Linked DNA regions of Homo sapiens: all the other regions are linked to region 4. The links are contacts of gene promoters, found by promoter capture Hi-C in blood cells and fetal thymus (Javierre and others, 2016). All regions are on one chromosome and are shown on one strand. The core of a region is centred on a gene start or on the middle of the fragment in contact, and the rest is flanking DNA. Distances in the headings are between cores, read along the strand shown. Region 1 overlaps SUSD1 (sushi domain containing 1). Region 2 overlaps SUSD1 (sushi domain containing 1). Region 3 overlaps SUSD1 (sushi domain containing 1). Region 4 holds the start of SHOC1 (shortage in chiasmata 1).

The links. The method cuts DNA at HindIII sites, captures the fragments that hold promoters and counts their contacts. A CHiCAGO score of 5 or more calls a contact.
Region 1: a fragment that was not itself captured here is called in contact with the fragment with the promoter of SHOC1 in region 4 in 1 of 17 cell types (activated CD4 T cells); the score reaches 5.0 in activated CD4 T cells.
Region 2: a fragment that was not itself captured here is called in contact with the fragment with the promoter of SHOC1 in region 4 in 1 of 17 cell types (activated CD4 T cells); the score reaches 7.4 in activated CD4 T cells.
Region 3: a contact is called between a fragment that was not itself captured here and the fragment with the promoter of SHOC1 in region 4, in 10 of 17 cell types (activated CD4 T cells, endothelial precursors, total CD8 T cells and 7 more). The highest score is 11.7, in activated CD4 T cells.

What each region holds. Positions count from the first base shown.
Region 1 is chr9:112,059,856-112,063,005 of GRCh38, forward strand. SUSD1 (sushi domain containing 1) reads right to left here. Exons shown (of 17, transcript NM_022486.5): 13 at 3,082-3,150. Among named protein-coding and RNA genes, the nearest start is that of LINC02977, 21 kb to the left of the region's middle. The HindIII fragment of the contact is 6,397 bases long and covers 1-3,150 here.
Region 2 is chr9:112,093,587-112,096,613 of GRCh38, forward strand. All of the region lies in intron 10 of SUSD1 (sushi domain containing 1), which reads right to left. Among named protein-coding and RNA genes, the nearest start is that of LINC02977, 55 kb to the left of the region's middle. RefSeq lists an enhancer at 1,928-2,097. The HindIII fragment of the contact is 1,818 bases long and covers 486-2,303 here.
Region 3 is chr9:112,075,814-112,079,146 of GRCh38, forward strand. It overlaps SUSD1 (sushi domain containing 1), which reads right to left. Exons shown (of 17, transcript NM_022486.5): 12 at 2,725-2,911. Among named protein-coding and RNA genes, the nearest start is that of LINC02977, 37 kb to the left of the region's middle. RefSeq lists an enhancer at 1,278-1,377. The HindIII fragment of the contact is 5,993 bases long and covers 1-3,333 here.
Region 4 is chr9:111,793,034-111,796,305 of GRCh38, forward strand. SHOC1 (shortage in chiasmata 1) reads right to left here and starts at 1,904. Exons shown (of 28, transcript NM_001378211.1): 1 at 1,867-1,904. It overlaps LOC124902249 (a long non-coding RNA gene), which reads left to right and starts at 3,185. Exons shown (of 2, transcript XR_007061734.1): 1 at 3,185-3,272. The HindIII fragment of the contact is 10,914 bases long and covers 777-3,272 here.

The DNA of each region.
Region 1 (3,150 bases), core at 271-2,770, 270 kb after region 4:
GTCAGGCTTGATAGCAGGGATCTGAACGACTGACTTGTATTCTTGCAAATCCTTGCACAGTTCTTTGGAAATGATAGCTCCCCAACCCCCGCCCTGCCCCGCCCCTCCGCCACCAGCAATGAATGATTCTTGAGTTGAAATTTCGGAAAAGAGGAAAAGCATACATCAGCGTGAAATATAATTAGGGTAATTTCCAAAACTCATTAGGCCATGTAATTCTATTTTACCAGTAAATTTGAACTTCCTGCTTCACATGTCAAACGCCCTATCTCCTGCTTCCTAAGAGCCCATGAATCACTAGGTTAAGAAGAGGGAGCCCTCCTCCACAGTGGGTGTTGGATATGGAAAGTCTCCCCCCACCAGGTTCCCAAACATCCTAGGTATCCTCAGGGCCCTGATTTTCTTTCTTTTCTTTTCTTTTTTAAGAAGGGAGTCTTGCTCTGCTGCCCAGGCTGGAGTGCAGTGGTGTGATCTCAGCTCACTGCAACCTTTACCTCCCAGGTTCAAGCGATTCTTCTGCTTCAGCCTCCTGAGTAGCCAAGACTACAGGCACTCGCCACTATGCCCGGTTAATTTTTTTTGTATTTTTAGTAGAGATGGTGTTCCACCATGTTGGCCAGGCTGGTCTTGAACTCCTGACCTCTTTAGCTGGGGGAAGTTGTTGCACGTATCACTGCCCTGTGTGCCCACCTCTGCCTCCCAATGGGCTGGGATTACAGGCGTAAGCCACTGTGCCTGGCCCAGGGTCCTGATTTTCATAAAGTCTTGGCTCACTTTCAGCCAAGGGCTTTCTACAAAAGAGATAAAGTAAAACCCACAGGGCAATAAGTTGTCACCACCAGTAAACATTTATTAAGCATCCACTGCCTATGGGGAACACCTGTAACAACAAACTTGCCGGGAGACTTGAAGACATCCCTACATCATAGCCACAGGTAAGAAAGTAAATGTTGCAGCACCTCCATGCGGTCCATAAGTACATCTTTAAATCCCTCTCATCTTTCCATGCAGGTGGTGGTGGTCAAGAGCAAGGTCGAGGCTCACCTGTGCCCATTTGGTTCCGTACATTGCTCACTAGAGGCATCATCGACAGAGTATGAATCAGCTCCCCAATTAGCCTGACCGTAATCACCTGTGTTGCTTGATTATTATACAAATTCCCCGACCTCATACCGACCTACTGAATCGAAATCTCTAGGAGTAGATTCTGGGAATCTGTATCGCTGGTAAAGCTCCCAGGTGATTCCTATAATCTGGCAATGTGGGAGACACGAGCATTAAGGGAACCCAGCAACAGGCTCCATCCTCTGCCTAACATCAGCAACCTCAGCAGAGACTTGGTCCCAGGGACCTTGCTCCATTATGTACCCCAAGACACTGTCCCTAAATGGTGCACAAAGCAGACTCAGGCCTGTCTCACACACTGGCAAAGCTGCTGCCCCCCAGCTCAAACCAGGTAGTCAGGCTTAGGAAAACCACCCTGCCTGCTGGTAATTAGCCATGTGATGTTAAAGAAGCAGCTGTGGCTGTTTGGAATATGACTGTTCTGGAAGGACTTTTCTCCTCTTTTTCACCACCACACTCCCTCGAATGACTCACAGTTCTCCACTTCCTGTTTTGGAGGCGCTGGCCGGCATATAGCCACAAGGGTAAGCTGTCATTTGGCTTTTCTTTTGCATTATGTCATTATTTGACATAAATATCACATTTGTTCTTGCAAATGCTCTCAGGAAGTGACATCACAACTTCTGTTCTCTTTATAATGACAGAATTACAATGCCTTCTGGTAACTTGTCAAGAATCAGAACAATTTATACAATGTCCATCCCTGGAAAGATCTTTGCACATTTACTGAACTTAAATGAATATAAAAGCAGGAAAACCCTAAGTTTTATTATAAATGGATATACAGATAATATCGCCAGACTTTCTTTTTTGTAATTTTATAATATCTCACTTTTTTTTTTTTAACCTTGATTTTACCGAAGGGTCAGCAGAGACAAAGGCAATGTTGGTGAGGCCATGTACATTTTCATCTCCTTGAGCTGGTACTGTGAGCAAGCTGTTCATCTCTCCACGCCAACCTCAATCTTCCTCTCTAAAAAAGGGACTGATGCTACTTTCCTAATCCTGCCATGACCTTTGCAAATAAAACACTTAACTGAACACACTGTAGTCCTCCAACTGAGGTAAATTAATTCCATCCTAATGCCATCTGGAATCCCAGAAGCAGTCATTAATTATACAGTGTCTTGCCTGTAACTCAATACATGAAAAGACAAAAAGATTTACCTAAATGATCTTTTCAGAAACCACTGCACACCCCCCAAGATCAACCTTACATAAAGGGCAACATATTCTGCCTTTGGGAAATGAAACGATGCCCCTGACCCACCATCCATAAAGGATGTACTATGAGACATGAGTGCAAAGGACAATCCTGACATGTCCTAACATGCAACCGACGTTTACCCAGGGACCAAAGGAATGGATGTAATTTCTTGAGCTAAACTGCCCAAATGCTTGTATATAGGGTCCTTTAGAAGTCTCTCTATGTGGCCGGGTGTGGTGGTTCAAGCCTGTAATCCTAGCACTTTGGGAGGTTGAGGCTGGTGGATCACCTGAGGTCAGGAGTTCAAGACCAGCCTGACCAACATGGCAAAACCTCGTCTCAACTAAAAATACAAAAATTAGCCAGGTGTGGTGGTGCACACCTATAATCCCAGCTACTCAGGAGGCAGTGGAAGGAGAATCACTTGCACCCAGCAGGTGGAGGTTGCAGTGAGCTGAGATCGCAACACTGTACTCCGGCCTGTATGATGGGAGTGACACTCCATCTCAAAAAAATAAAAAATAAAATTTAAATTTTAAAAAAAAGAAGTCTCTCTCACCATTAGAAAGGATGCTGGTTGGGATTAAAGGCCAGTCTGTACCCAAGGAAACAAAAGAGGCCCCAACTGCATTGTTCTAACCACCCAAGTGCAGCCACCAACACAGAAGTCTTCTCCTCACCAAAATCAAAGTTTCCAAAACACTCCATGGGGATCACTGGGCAACCGTGGAGAAAGGACAGCTACTGACCTGATTGGTCCATTTTTCTCCTTGGCTTTCCTCAGTCTGAGGCGTGGTAGAGGTCCTCTGTGCACCGTA
Region 2 (3,027 bases), core at 145-2,644, 300 kb after region 4:
TGGAGAGAGTTCCTGGAAACTTGCCCAGATCAATAAAGTTGATCCTCTATTTGTCATTTATCTATCTGTTTGTCCTGTTAATCTCAGATGGAAAGGAGAGGTAAGATTCAGTATCTCCCTGCAAAAGACAGATATACTGACTGGGGCCTTGAGTATAAAGATAAGAGCTGCCACAGCGGAGCAAGGCACCATGATGGAAGATGAGAGCTCCTGGTCTCTGCAGCTGGAATTCAGGAACAGATGAGGTAGGTAGATATCTGATTACCAGGAAAACTTTGCAAATCAGACAAAGCTCTAAGACATAGGCTTTTTAGGCAGGAGCAGATGGAATTATTTTAGCTACCACTTTTTTTTTATTTCAGTCTTTCTTTTCTTATTATGTCTCCGCCTGCAAGAGCTTTGACATTGCCCGGAAGTAGCTAAGGTTTATGTGGTTAGAGCAATGCGACTCAAAATGTGGACTGACAATATCAATAAGGCCTGAAAGCTTGCTAGAAATGAAAATTTGCTCCCCTCCCCAAAGGCCTACTGAATCAGAACCTCTGGGATGGGGCCCAGGAACCAGTGTTTTCATAAGCTCTCCAGGTAATCATTACACTTGCTAAAGTTTAAGATGCACAAAGGGAGCAATGGTGGGAGGTTTTAAAGAGCATTTTGGGGAGCTAGATATTAGTAGACAACATTAGATTAGCTTGCCAAAATTCCATTTCTCTTTATATTGTTTGGAATTTCATCCAGGGCTAAGGAGAGAACTGTAGAAAGACTGGATCCACGGTTTCTCCACAGGCTGAGTTCACCCCCACACCAAGGGCTTTTAAATGGCCCTGGATGATCTGTTTCACAGAAACTCAGACCGGGGATTCTAGATAAGAAACTCTTTGGGGGCTAAAGTAGAAAAAAAGTCCAGTGGAATTATTACAAACTCAAATGCTAAAAAGAAATAGCAAAAAGTGTACACCTAGAACTCTGTTCCTAGAAATGAGATTTTCCCCATCTCTGAAAATAGAATGAAGTCAGTTTACAAAACAGGTTTTGGTCTTGCAGACAGGATAAGATTAGGGAGAAACGATAAGATTAGGAGGAATGAAACAAAGTGAAGGAAATAACACTAAGAAGAAAATTTGAAATCATATTGGCCCAGTTAGAAAAATATGACAAGGAAAAGTTTTAAATAGGGGAGCGAGAATAGGCATTAATGAGAACTCTTCGTTTCTTCCTTAATAACTGGAACTGTGATACTCTATAGTTAAAGAAATGTGAACATGTTTAAAAAGAGAATCATCAGTGAATGATCAGTGTAGAATTCTTCAAGCATCACTAAGTGAGTTTCAAGGTGGCATTGTTTTTGTAAGATGGGGCAACAGGTATTGCACCGGCTATAAGGACATCTGCCTGGGAAATAGAGCTGTATTAAACAAGGTCCAGGGAGAATGAAAATTGATAAAGCCCAGGCCTGGGTTTAGGCCGAACTGAATAGAAAGAAATGCCTCCTAGTGAAAATGAAAGTGGGAAGAAGGTATTTTAACACTGGATGTTTATGGCAGGTCGAGAGCTCTGTGACATCATTCTTTCTCTACAGAGACCTCGGAGGCAGATTCCAAAGTAATATGTGAGGAGAACAAAAATCTAAGTCTGAAAACAAAAAGCAAATATAGAGAAGGAAAAGTACTAAGACCTAGCAAAAGGTATGAGTCCTACCTGGCAATAAAGACGGAACAGAAACAACTTAAATGGAAGGGTAAAGGCTTAGAGCTGAGCAGGACCTGCTAAGTAAGAACGTTCTCAGAGGGACCTTGAACATTGCAGGCTTATCTCTCTGATACAGAAAAGGAAGCGGGAGCAAGAAGTGTTTCAGTTTCCATCAAAGAAGCACCGACCATTTAAGTCTTGGAAATTCAATTCCAAGAAGGTAGGGCTTGGGCGAAATGCCACTAGCCCAGGGGGTTTCCTGGACCTCATCAGACCAGTGAAAGTTCAGGTTCTGGAAACCCAACAGCAGCTCACAGATCAGCTGAGGGTAATTCCCCATGGGAGACAAAAGGGAAAATCTCCTAACCAGGAAGTAGGACTCACAGGCAGACATTCAATAATAGGAGCCTGTGGAGTCCAGAACTAAAACAATTTGGGGGATCTTTCTGGGTTTAGAGAAATTCAGAGAAAAGAGTCAGAAATGGAGACAGGGAAGGAAGCATGCAAGATGATGCATTTCACTTGAAGAGTTTCCTAAGATAAATGTGGGGTGTCCTGCCCAGAAAGAAGGGAGACTCTTTCACTAAACAGATAAAGATCTTCAGCAATGGTGAAGCTTGGGTAGAAATAGGGCTCAAGGGAGCAACGAAAATGGAAAGGTTTTAATCTTTGGAACGGGCATCAAGAAAGACCTAGAGCCACCACTGCAAATGTCTAAAATTTTCAAGGAGAGTACAGTGTCAAAATGAATCCAACTACCCTGACGAGAAGACATTTCCCAATTTAAGTTTAAATTGACACGTGGTAGACTCCAGACTGCTTGGTAACCTACAGAGGCTGAACTATGGCATGCTACATTATACTTACTACTAGTAATTTAGGGAGGCAAAGGAGAAGGTAACAACAGGCTTCTTTCTGAACCTGACACCATGGGCCTCTCATTTATTATACTCATGCTAGAGTTTAGACCTCATCTCTCACCACTGTCCCCAGCTCTCTGCTCCAGCCATACTGGTTTCCATGACATTCCTAGAATATGCCAAGTATGTGCCTGCCTCAAAACCTCAGCATTTGCCAGTCTCCTATACACCAAAGGAGTAGCATCTATTACAAAACAAGATTCCTAGGTTTCAACAGCTAGAACACACTCTCCACTCAGCAGGACACTCTGGCCAAGACTCAGCAGAAAAGATGTAGGATAGAAAAAACTGGGGACTTCATGCCTTTACATTTTAGTTTATTTTACAAGGAGAGGTGGATTTATTTATTCTTATTTCTTTATCTGAGGAGATCTTGCTCTATTGCCCAGGCTGAAGTGCAGTGGCGCAATCTCGGCTC
Region 3 (3,333 bases), core at 687-3,186, 280 kb after region 4:
TACAGAGTACTAGCGTGGAGGCTGGTGATGGCAGTTGAGCAGGCACCTGAACAACTATGGAGAAGCCATATGTTGACAGTGTCCCAGGAAGTGTGAACTGCAGATGGAAAAGTCTGGAGGCTGGAAAAACTTTGACCCATTGAAGGAACTGCAAGAAGGCCAGGGAGACAGCTGATGCTTAATGGGAAAGGAGGAGAGCAGGGGGAGATGAATTAGAAGTAGGCAGGGGCCAGATGACATGTCCTATGATGAGGAACTTGGATTCCATTCTAACTTTAATGGAAACTCACTGGAGAGTTTTGAGCTGGTGCTGACATGTTCCCAAATGCATTTTTAAAAGATCACTCTGAGTGCTGAGTGATCTTTTGAAAGTTATGGTGAAGACTAAGACTAAGGTCCAGGGTGGGAGGTATATAGGCAAGAGAAAACCAGTTTGAAAACTACAGCAGGAATCCAAGCAAGAGGTGGCTGTCTTGGATTAGGGTAGTTGTGGAAAAGGCACAGGTGGGGAGAAGTGGTGGAATTCAGAATATATTTCAGACAGCAAGCCAACAGGGCTTGTTGACAGATTAGAAATTTGGGGATGGGATAGAACCAATTAGGACTTGTTTTTGGTCTGAACAATTGGGTGAACAGAAATTCCAATAACAGACAGAAAGTAACAGATAGAAACAGAGAAGCCTGGGTGGAAACCGATTTGGGGGCGAGGGCAGAGGTGAGAAATCACAAGTTCCGTTTGATTTGCGTATTAGATGTTCAATAGGACATGTGTAGAAGTTGGGTGGATATAGGAGTCTGGTGCTCAAAGGAGAGGCTGGGACTAGAAATTGATCTTTGGAAATCCTCTGCATATAGGTAATAGTTATAGCCATAAGACTGGTTGAGATCACCTAAGCAGAAAGGGTAGATAATGAAGAAAAGGAGGCTGAAGAGGGGTCATAAAAGTAGATGGAGCTAGCAAAGAAGACTGAGAGGGGACAGCAAGGCAGAAGGAACCAAAACTAAGGGAGAGGGGGTTTCAAGAGGGAGGGAGTGTCAACGCTATCGAAGAAATCAGATAAGAACAAAACTGGCCATTGGATTTGGCAAGACGGAGATCAAACGAAGAGCCTTTCAGTAAAGCAATGAAGACGTATGTTTCCCACGTGGGATGAGTGAAAGTGAGAACAGGAGGTAGGGCTGTGGAGCCTACAGAACAGCCATTTCTTTCAAGGAGTTTTTATAGAAAGGGGCAGAGAGAAGGCAAAGTAGCTGAAGACAAATATGGGCTCAAAGAAGGTCTGCTCATTTTTTCTTTCTTTTCGTTCACAAGGAGGATGTTGCAACATGCTAGGCAATGCTGGGGATAATTCTGTATTGAGGGGAAGTGCTGATCAGGGAAGAAGGGATGGGATCTAAGGCACAAGTTGAGGGGATGGCAGCCTTACACACGAGCAGGGACAGGAAGGGAGGCAGAACAGGATGCAAGGAGGAACGGCAGGGCTGAGCGTGGGAAGTCCTCACCTGACTACTTCTAATTTCTCAGTGAAATAAGAATCAAGAAGCTAATATGCTTAGTATTTGCTCAGAGCATGTGTGAAGTGGGGGTCACAGATGTGAAGAGGGAGGAGAAAATGAGTGGAAAGTGAATTTACTGGGGCCCTATAGCCGGAGGACTACAATCATTGTCCCCTGATAGTAATCTACTTTTTTTTTTTTTTTTTTTTTTTTTTTTTTGAGATGGAGTTTTGCTCTTGTTGCCTAGGCTGGAGTGCGATCTCAGATCAACACAACCTCCACCTCCTGGGTTCAAGCAATTCTCCTGCCTCAGCCTCCCGAGTAGCTGGGATTACAGGCACCTGACACCACACCCAGCTAATTTTTGTATTCTTAGTAGAGGTGGGGTTTCACCACGTCAGCCAGGCTGATCTCGAAATGATCCTCACATGATCAACCCTCCTCAGCTTCCCAAAGTGCTGGGATTACAGGTTTGAGCCACTGTGCCTAGCTAGTAATCTACTCTTAAAGTACTTGCAACAGGATGCCAACTAAATATTCCTGAGAAAGAAAGAGCCACAAGCATTTTTTGTTTAAGTATAAAGTATTTTAAATGCTTTAAATATCCAGAAGCTATACAACCAACACCATGGATGGACACACTACCCACATTTCATCAATGCTGACATTTTGTTTCAGGTATCTTCCCCCTCCCCCTCCCCACAGACCTCCCCTGTGGTTATTAGGTATCTTTTTAAAAATAAAACATAACAGGCTGGGCGCAGTGGCTTACACCTGTAATCCCAGCACTTTGGGAGGCCGAGGCAGGTGGATTGCTTGAGCCCAGGAGTTCGAGACCAGCCTAGGCAACATAGTGAAACCCCGTCTCTACAAAAAATACAGAAATTAGCCAGGCATGGTGGCCTATACAACTATAATCCCAGCTACTCAAGAGGCTGAGGCAGGAGGATCATTTAAGCCCAGGTCAAGGCTGCAGTGAGCCATGATCGTGCCTCTGCACTCCAGCCTGGGCGACAGAGCAAGACCCTGCCTCAAAAAAAGAAAAAAGAATGAAACATAACAGTCACAGAGGCGCCTTAAGGCACCTCTCCAATTCCATGTCCTTCCTCCTCTCCCTGTTAAAGTTCATTATATAATGATAAAAAGCAACAGTGTTCCTCTTTATCAGGACCTATGAACAATTCTGTGGTAACTTTGTTAATCCAAATGCTGTTATTCAAGATTTACCTGTTATCTGGGTTGTCAGGGAGATGACCACAGGAAGTTCCGAAGACAGAGCCCGGAGACTGACATTGTAGTTGGTACCCGGACGTAGGTCCAAGCACACCTCGGGATCTCGGCTGCTGCTACTGATATTAAAGGTCATTTCCTGGGCAAATTCCTTCTGATACCATCTCTGGCCCCAAATGTGGAACTGAAACATAAAAAAGCTCACTGGGTGAATGGTTGGCCTAAAAGGCTTTAGATGCCTTGAAACCTCCCCTTTTCCTTTTTCTTTCTCTTTTTTTTTTTTTTTTTTTGAGATGGGGGCCTCACTCTGTCACCCATGCTGGAGTGCAGTGGCATGACCTCGGCTCACTGCAGCCTCAACCTCCCAGGCTCAAGTGATCCTCCCTCCTCAGCCTCCCAAGTAACTGGGACCACAGATGCATGCCACCACATCCAGCTAATTTTTGTATTTTTTGTAGAGACAGGGTTTCGCCATGTTGCCCAGGCTGGTCTCAAACTCCTGAGCTCTAGTGATCTGCCACCTCGAATCCCAAAGTGCTGAGATCACAGGCGTGAGCCACCGCGCCCAGCCCCTTCCCGTTTTCATGAGCTTTCTTCCTCTCTCTC
Region 4 (3,272 bases), core at 654-3,153:
CAACACGCCCGGCTAATTTTTTGTATATTTAGTAGAGACAGGGTTTCACCGTGTTAGACTGGATGGTCTCGATCTCCTGACCTTGTGATCCGCCCGTCTCGGTCTCCCAGAGTGCTGGGATTACAGGCGTGAGCCACCGCGCCCGGCCTGTCACTGATCTTTCAAGCAAATATTGATTCTAGAACTTCCATTTCTTGGTGTTGCACTTTCAGAAAAAACTGATTGTCTCATTCTAAAAGCCATTGCAAAAAGTTAACAACAAACTCAACTTTACTGACTTTACCCATTCAGCTTATTGTCAGCATTTATATTAACTTTTCTTTTCTTGTGAAGCCTAGTATTTCTATCACTCTCACCAATTACCTTAAGAAATAATTACTTTTGTATTGAAGTCAACCACTGAAATTCATGCTAAATATGTACTACTTAATAAGATGCCATATGTTATATACATGCTTAGAATCCCGTTTATCAAGTTTATTTCATTGTAATACAGATATCGAATCCATCTAATAGTGGTGGGTGGAAGCAAAAACGATACATTGCTCTTATTTCTAAAACCAAAGATATGAGGAAATGAACAAAATCATGGTTAGAGAGAGGGTAATTTAAAATTATCAAGTTTTGAATTGCAGCAATTCTCGAATTTTTTTTTTTTTTACCTTTTTCTAAAGATTTTATTTCTTTTGTGCTACTTCCTAACAAACATCTACTGGACTACTGGACCAAAATGGAAATGCACACGATAATGAGGTCAGGCACAAGGCCAGGAAGTAAGCTTTCCCAAGATGATGATGATGATGATGATGATTTAATTAATTAATCAAATAATTTTTTGAGACAGAGTCTCCCTCTGTCCCCAGGCTGGAGTGCAATGGTGCGATCTTGGCTCACTGCAACCTCCAGCTCCCGGGTTCAAGCGATTCTCCTGCCTCAGCCTCCCGAGTAGCTGGGATTACAGGCGGGTGCCACCATGCCCGGCTAATTTTTGTATTTTTAATAGAGACGGGGTTTCGCCATGTTGGCCAGGCTGATTTCGAACTCCTGAGCTCAGGCAATCCTCTCGCCTCAGCCTCCCGAAGTGCTGGGATTACAGGCCTGAGCCACCATATGCCAGGCCCCAAGATTATTTAAAAGCACTCACAGGTGAGTGTGAATCTTCGGGCTGGCTTCCCACCTCTCCCCACCAGCCTAAGGCATCAGGAGCTTTCTGCCTTCTTCACTCCCTCGCATAAAAACCCACTTAAAAAAAAAAAAATAATAAGATCCGCCGGAAGTGGTGGCTCACACCTGTAATCCCAGCACTTCGGGAGGCCGAGGCGGGTGGATCACTTGAGGTCAGGAGTTCGAGACCAGCCGGGTCAACATGGCAAAACCCCGTCTCTATTAAAAATATAAAAATTAGCCAGACGTGGTGGAGGACGCCTGTAGTCCCAACTACTCTGGAGGCTGAGGCAGGAGAATCTCTTGAACTCGGGAGGCAGAGGTTGCAGTGAACCGAGATCGTGCCACTGCACGCCAGCCTGGGCAACAGAGCGAGACCCTGTCTTAAAACAGACAAAAAAACGTAACATGGCAGAGAAGGCGAGGTGCACCTATTTTCCCTTATTGTTTAGCCCATACAACTTCTAGTTGATGGGCTGAAATCCCACCAGCATCTCTGAGACCTTCACACCTTCTATTCTCAGGTTAAGTGGACAGTGGGTCTGGGGTTTTGTCTCTACAGAGCCACATCGGCCGGGCCTCACAGATGCGTTTTCCAGAGATTCCTGAGCTGCCATACTTCTTTGGTCCCATACGACCTTTTCCTCCCCTCAGCCCTCAAAATCACCCTCTCTCCTGCCTCCAGCCTCTCAGGGCTCTTACCTGAGGTAAAAATCGCCTCCTGCATCTCTTCCTGGGGTAAAATTCCCGCCCGCTGGACACGTGACCACTGAGCCTGCACTCTGTGCTTCCATTGGCCAGACCAGGCCCCGCCCCTTGGGCTCCGGGCACTTCCGTCCGCGAGTGGGCACAGCCTAGGGAGGTAAGGATTGTGGGGATTCGAGGCTGCAGCCTGGGCAGCGCCGAGGTCCTCGGGAGTGAGCAGAACCCTCATAACACTGGGCGGAGTGTGACGGTGGAGAAGTCGGCGTGAGGCTAGAAAGAGCTGGTTGTGAAGGGTTGGGAAGACCCGGCAAAGCAGTCCGGACTTCTTTGGGAGTGGCGGCTCCCATGTTGTTAGCGAGGCCGGGCAAAACGCGGCAGGGTTAGCCGGAGGGCGAGGGCAGAAGCCTTTCAGAGGTAAGGGTGGGAGGATTTAGCAATCAGACAGATTCAGGGAAAGAGGAAGGCAAGAGAGAGGAGGCAAACGTGCCTCAGGGGTCTGGCTAGGTGTGGGTCATGGCTTGGTAGCAGAAGAACTTTTGAGGAGGGGCAGGAAGATACTGCTTTTCAATTGGCACATGTGGATTCTATACCTTAATTAAAGCCACTCCCTTACATACACACATTTAGGTATCGCCAGACTCGCCTGATGAGGAATAATTATTCTTTCCTCCATATTTCTTAACTCCTGTCTTTTCCATGAAACGGCTTGGCATTAAACTCCTTCCCAGAAGATTGCAAGAAGTAACATGCATTTATTTACTTTACTAACACATGGGTGTCTTTTGAGTTGATTGTTCAAATACTAATTGTGAAATGTCAGTGGATAAGTCACTTTATTTTCTTAAGTTACTTCCTTTATTTTGTACAGGTGTGTGCAGTTTGCTTCGGTTATATGGATTTAATGTTTGACAATAATCAGTTTTAAAGATATTCACCTAACATTGAAGTGCATTAATCATCCTGTGTTCTTGGATGTCTACCTTTTATTAAAATCAATTTTAAATTAAATATCTTTGTAAAAGTTACAAAAATTGGCCGGGCCTGGTGGCTCACGCTGTAATCCCAGCATTTTGGGAGGCTGAGGTGGGTGGATCACCTGAGGTCAGGAGTTCGAGACCAGCCTGGTCAACATGGTGAAACCTCATCTCTACTAAAAATACAAAAAAAAAAAAAAAAAAAAAAATCAGCCGGGTGTGGTGGCATGCCCCTGTAATCCCAGCTACTTGGGAGGCTGAGGCAGGAGAATCGCTTGAACCCGGAGGCGGAGGTTGTAGTGAGCCGAGATCATGCCACTGCATTCCAGCCTGGGGGACAGAGCAAGATTCCGTATCAGAAACAAACAAACAGAAAAACCAACAACAAAAAAAACCAAAAAACAAAAATAACACATGCTTATCCTTACT